Linked DNA regions of Homo sapiens: region 1 is linked to region 2. Evidence: promoter capture Hi-C in 16 types of primary human blood cells and fetal thymus (Javierre and others, 2016). All regions are on one chromosome and are shown on one strand. The core of a region is centred on a gene start or on the middle of the fragment in contact, and the rest is flanking DNA. Distances in the headings are between cores, read along the strand shown.

Region 1 (2,966 bases), core at 120-2,619, 440 kb before region 2:
GGGAGTTTTGATGGCCCTAATCTATAGAAAGTACGGTGAGGGAGAAAGGGAATGGAGTTGAAAATCTAAGGTAACGCTCGGTTTCAAGCCTAGGAAATTGAGAGAATGACAAGGCCATGAACAGAAACATGGAATGAGTATAAGACCGATTTGAGATGGAGGATGGTGAGTTTGCTTTGTGACATGTTCAATCATTGTAGATAGAGATTTGAAGGTCATTTGTAGAAGTGAATTTTGAAAACAGAAGAGTGTTTAGCACTAAAAAGGAAGAAAAGGGCCAAGGACAGAAACTTGAGGAGCTTTCCTTTGGTGGCTTGTTGGGGGATGGAGCAGCACAGTCAGAGTAGTGCAAGTGAACCAGGGGAGGGCAGTGGCACCGGAGCTCAGGGAGCCCAGAGCACCCAAGTGGTTTGGATACTGCCTGCAACGTGGTGGGCTCTCAAGAAAGTCTTTTGAACTAAGCTGAGAGAGATGTAAGATGATAGAGATTTGGTGAATGAGTGGTGTGGTGTCCCTAATGAGGGAAGCTTCAGCAGAGACTGGGGTCAGAAGCCATATGCAGAGGCTGTGGAACAAGGAAGTGGTGAGGAAAGGGAGTTAGGTTGTGACTGTTTTTGGAAGTGGTTTGATAAAGAAGGAAAGAGGAAACAGCAGAAGCTTGGGTGGGTAGCACTGCTTGGGAAGGTTTCTTTTTAAGAAGTCAGGAGAAACCTATGGCAGGGATGGATGGAAAGGAGAGACTGAGGATAACAGAAGCAACAGGATACCAGAGGGGTGGGAGACAATGGGATAGAGTCATACTCATTAACATACCCAGCTTGGCAGAGGAGAGCAAGCCAGACTGAGGAAGAGAAGAACTTCTTCCATCTCTTCTCAGGAAAAACTGAAGTGAGGGCTGGGTGCAGTGATTCACACCTGTAATCCCAGTACTTTGGGAGGCCAAGGCAGGAGAATCGCTTGAGCTCAGGAGTTTGAAACAAGCCTGGGCAACATGGCAGGACTTGTCTCTACTAAAAATCAAAAAAATTAGCTGGGCGTGGTGGTACACGCCTGTGGTCCCAGCTACATGGGAGGATCACTTGAACTTGGGAATTCAAGGCTACCATGAGTGGTGATCATAACACCACACTCCAGCCTGGGCAACAGAGTGAGACCCTATCTAAAAAAGAAAGGAAAAAAAAAAAAACTGATGCAAAGTCACCTGCTCTCAGCAGGAAGGAATGTGGATAAGGTTGTGGATTTGAAGACAGTGGCTAAGGATTAGAACAGCTCCTTTGGTGGAAGATGTGGGGAATGGGTCTGAGATCTAGAGTGCTGAGCAGCAGTAACCAGGCAGAAATGGGAGAAGACCAAGGCATGGTGCATTGGGCATGGGAGCATCAGCAGCCCCAAATTCTGGGCTCCAGGTTTGGCAGGAAGGCAAGGGAAAGCCAGGTAGAGGTGACAGAGATCTGGAAATCTGGATCAAAACAAAAGCAGGCTTATAGAAGGAATGAGGCCAGATGTGGTGACTCATGCCTGTAAACCCAGTGCTTTCGAGGTGGAGACAGTAGGATTGCTTGGGGCAATCAGCTTGGGCAACGTGGCGAGACCCCATCTCTACAAAAAATTGAAAAATTAGCTGGGTGTGGTGGTGCACACATGTATTCCTAGCTACTTGGGAGACTGAGGTGGGAGGATTGCTTGAGCCCAGGAGTTCAAGGCTACAGTAAGATATGACCAGGCTACTGCCCTCTAGCCTGGGTGACAGAGTGAGATACTGTCTCAAGAAGAAAAAGAAGAAATAGGAGCAGAGGAACTAGGGAGGGAACACTATTGGGTCACTTATTTTCTCATGTTCCCCTCTCTTTGTACAGTATTTAATGTCTTTTTTTAACCTTAGCCTCACCCTCCTCATGACTTACAACTAGTCTCTTTTAGTACTGTTCTAGATTGTGTATGCTACAATGTAGAAAATAAAATAATGGAAGCTGATCCTAGGATGAATACATCCTAGGCTGCTACAATTTATTCCAGGCATGTGTTAAGCATTTTGCATGCATAACCTTATTTACTGCTTATGAAAACTCTGAGTTTAAATACTAAGCTTTTAATATTTCTTCTTAAAGATGAGTCACAGAGAGATTAGATAAATTGTTCAAGGTCACATGGCAAGTGAATGATGGAATTGAGTTTTGGACCCAGGTGGGCTGATTTGAGCCTTACCTGTGCTCTTAACGACTTTTCTAAACTGCCTCCCTGCCAAGACCTGCCACACTTGTCATAGAGCAACTGTATTGCCTTTTAAAAAAATCACTCAGTCAAATTGTCATTGTCATTGTCATAACAATAACATCTGAATCAGCCTTTACAGTTTGGAAATCACATTATTTCTTTCAGTCTTCACAAGATCCCTGTGAAGTTTGCAGGCATGTGCAGGACAAAGGAAGAGACCTTCAACTCCAAAATCTCTATATCTTTACTCCTGGAAGTCTTTGAAGTTTTGTTGTTCCAGAGCTGTGACCAGACCAAAGAACTGTGATATTTTTTTCTCTTAACTATGCTAGGCTTTTTGTTGTTGTTGTTTTTTAAAACTAAAGGAGTTCTCTCCACAGACCTTCTGCTTCTTTCCAGGTCACAGAACTCTGTATGTGGGAGTTCGGATGCCGCTTGGCCGGCAGAGCCATCGGCATCACCGCACTCATGGCCAGAAGCACCGGAGACGAGGGCGGGGCAAAGGAGCCAGCCAGGGGGAGGAAGGCCTGGAAGCCCTGGCCCACGGTAAGGGCCTTGGGAGACAGGGCGGGTGTCCATGGCCCAGGGGAATGGGGAGGCTGAGGGGACATGTGACTGACATTAGCAGCTGGTCTTGATTCTTGAGCCTTTTTGTAGGATTTCCAAAGCTTGCTTCTAAGAAGAAATGCCTCTAAGAGTCAAAAATATTTTCGTGAAAACTTCACAGTTCCGGGCGGCTGGGACTACAGGCG
Region 2 (2,933 bases), core at 279-2,778:
AGATCCCCATCTCTACATAAAAAAGTTAGACAGGCGCGGTGGCACACACCTGTGTGCCTCCGAGAAGCTCGTAGCTTCTCGGGAGGCTGAGGTGGGAGAATCACTTAAGCCCAGGAGTTTGAGGCTGCAGTAAGCTATGATCATGCCACTCCACTCCAGCCCAGGTGACAGAGTAAGACCCTGTTTCTAAAAAGAAAAAAATAAAATAAAAACACACAAATCAGTACTATCTTTTTCAATGAAATGTACATTTTCAAGGATATACAAGTGCCAGTTGGTAAAGGGTGGAGGAGAATGGGATGTGGGGATTAAGGGTGAAAGAGAGAAACTAAAGAAAGTAAAACAAAACAAGAGAGAGGTCTTGTACAGTCTGATGATGGGAGTGATACCAATGGGGGAATATCATTGGCTCCATTTTCTACATCTGTGGACCAAGACCAATCCATCAAGCTTAATATGTAATATAAATATTAAAGAATATTTTGATAACAATTTATCATTATATTAACAGATCATTTAATTTAAATATTTCATATTTAATTTATCACACTGAAACTAATCTATTAAATTTCATACATCATAATTTCTGGCCAATCCCTCCCTCACTACTGCCTGCCGCACTTTGTGCCCCGACTGCCCACCTGCACTAGACACATAATGTCGGTACTCACAATTTCGTTTGTTTGTTTGTTTTGTTTTTTGAGAAGGAGTTTCGCTCTTGTTGCCTAGGCTGGAGAGCAATGGTGCGATCCCGGCTTACTGCAACCTCTGCCTCCCGGGTTCAAGTGATTCTCCTGCCTCAGCCTCCTGAGTAGCTGGGATTACAGGCGCCCACCACCAAGCCCAGCTAATTTTTGTATTTTTAGTAGAGACAGGGTTTTGCCATGTTAGCCAGGCTGTTCTTGAACTCCTGACCTCAGATAATCCACCCGTCTTGGAATCTCAAAGTGCTGGGATTACAGGCGTGAGCCACCCCGCCTGGCCACAATTTTTTTTTAAAAGGAGGTCTCCCTCTGTTGCCCAGGCTAGAGTTCAGTGGCGCGACATCGGTTCATTGCAGCCTCGACCTCCCGGGCTCAAGCGATCCTCCCACCTCAGCCTCCTGAGTCGCTGGGATAACAGACGTGAGCCACCGGGCCCAGCTCTATACTCATAATTTGACAATTATGTTTTTATTTCCCCAGAACCTCAAAAAATAAGTTCAGGTGACCCCCCTGGAGACCCCACCCCAGGGTCATTCTGAGAGTACCAACCCTATTTAATGAGATACCTGCATTCACTCACCCCCTCTCCCGCAACCACCCCTTCAGCAAGTCGCGCTCCACCCAATTAGGAGGGGCTTTAGGCTGGGCCTAAAAAGTTGGGCCAAGACCCCACGAGGCAGCATCTCCGCCGGCGTCCCCAAGGCTGAGAGTGGGCGCGTCCGTCAGGAGGAGTCGTCTTTGTGAGCCCGCCCCGGCGGGGAGGAGCTGCCCGGCTCAGGCCCCGCCCACCCGGAGGATCTTGGGGCTGGTCTGAGTCCGCTCCTGAGACGTGACCACCCGCCCCGCATGGGGCCCCAGTCCCAGCTGCTTGATCCGGCTCAGCCCCGAGGTGTTTGCAGCAGCTCTTTATGAAAGTCCAGCCATCTGTTACCTGCGTTGCTTCCTGGGGAGGGATAGTCCACCTGGAGGCATTCGGAGACCCAGTGATTGTGCTCCGCGGAGCCTGGGCTGTGCCCCGCGTTGACTGCCTCATAGATACCCTACGAACCCCAAGTAAGAAAAAACGACGACCCTCTCTCCGTGAGTCTCACTGGGGTGCTGACCTAGAGTGAACCCTGCTTGCTTAGGGCTCCTGACCCAGCGCTTGTCCTTTCTCAGGGTGGATGGGGCGAGACCCCTGCTGGGATAAATGTTTTCCCTGGGGCAAGGGCTGTGCACTTCGCAGCTGCTGGGTCCCCTCCCTAGGATCCAGGGAGACACTCACTACTCCTCTCCATTCTGTGTTTTAGATGCCAGCTGCATGAGAAAAGGGACTCACCTTCTGGTTCCCTGCCTGGAAGAGGAAGAGCTGGCATTGCACAGGAGACGGCTGGACATGTCTGAGGCACTGCCCTGCCCGGGCAAGGAGACCCCCACCCCAGGCTGCAGGCTGGGGGCCCTGTATTGGGCCTGTGTCCACAATGATCCCACCCAGCTCCAAGCCATACTGGATGGTGGGGTCTCCCCAGAGGAGGCCACCCAGGTGGACAGCAATGGGAGGGTGAGATGTCCTGGCTTCCCAGAACAGCTGGGGGCATCTTTGCATCCCCACCACACCGTCCTGGCCTGGCTCCCTGAGAGGGGTTCAGGGGCAATACCTCCTGCAGTCCTAAGGAGGAAGGGAATGGTTAAGGGCGGGTCTTCACGGGGTTTGGGGCAGGCTCTGGGACAGATATGGGTTTAGAGGGTGCAAGGGGCCCTGGAGTGGCCCAGGGGGAAAGCAGGGGATCTGAGCTGCCCCTCCCTCAGACAGGCCTCATGGTCGCATGCTACCACGGCTTCCAGAGTGTTGTGGCCCTGCTCAGCCACTGTCCTTTCCTTGATGTGAACCAGCAGGACAAAGGAGGGGACACGGCCCTCATGTTGGCTGCCCAAGCAGGTGTGAGGCTGCTGCACCCCACTTCCGACAGCCCCCTTTTGATGCAGACAGGGCCTCAGCCCCACCCTTGTTGCACGGTGTTCTACACCAGACTCTGTCATGCTGGGTGGAGGGCGGTTTGGGAGCTTCATCACCCCCTTTCCTGGGGACCAAGCTTACCCTTGCTGCCCTGCAGGCCACGTGCCTCTAGTGAGTCTCCTGCTCAACTACTATGTGGGCCTGGACCTGGAACGCCGGGACCAGCGGGGGCTCACGGCGTTAATGAAGGCTGCCATGCGGAACCGCTGTGAGTGCGTGGCCACCCTCCTCAT

Evidence for each region. The method cuts DNA at HindIII sites, captures the fragments that hold promoters and counts their contacts. A CHiCAGO score of 5 or more calls a contact.
Region 1: a contact is called between a fragment that was not itself captured here and the fragment with the promoter of ANKRD33 in region 2, in 1 of 17 cell types (M0 macrophages). The highest score is 5.9, in M0 macrophages.

What each region holds. Positions count from the first base shown.
Region 1 is chr12:51,448,263-51,451,228 of GRCh38, forward strand. SLC4A8 (solute carrier family 4 member 8) reads left to right here. Exons shown (of 25, transcript NM_001039960.3): 3 at 2,614-2,760. Among named protein-coding and RNA genes, the nearest start is that of SLC4A8-AS1, 24 kb to the left of the region's middle. The HindIII fragment of the contact is 1,429 bases long and covers 656-2,084 here.
Region 2 is chr12:51,886,575-51,889,507 of GRCh38, forward strand. It overlaps ANKRD33 (ankyrin repeat domain 33), which reads left to right and starts at 1,529. Exons shown (of 5, transcript NM_182608.4): 1 at 1,529-1,757; 2 at 1,994-2,244; 3 at 2,493-2,622; 4 at 2,798-2,908. The coding sequence starts at 1,613. The HindIII fragment of the contact is 2,326 bases long and covers 449-2,774 here.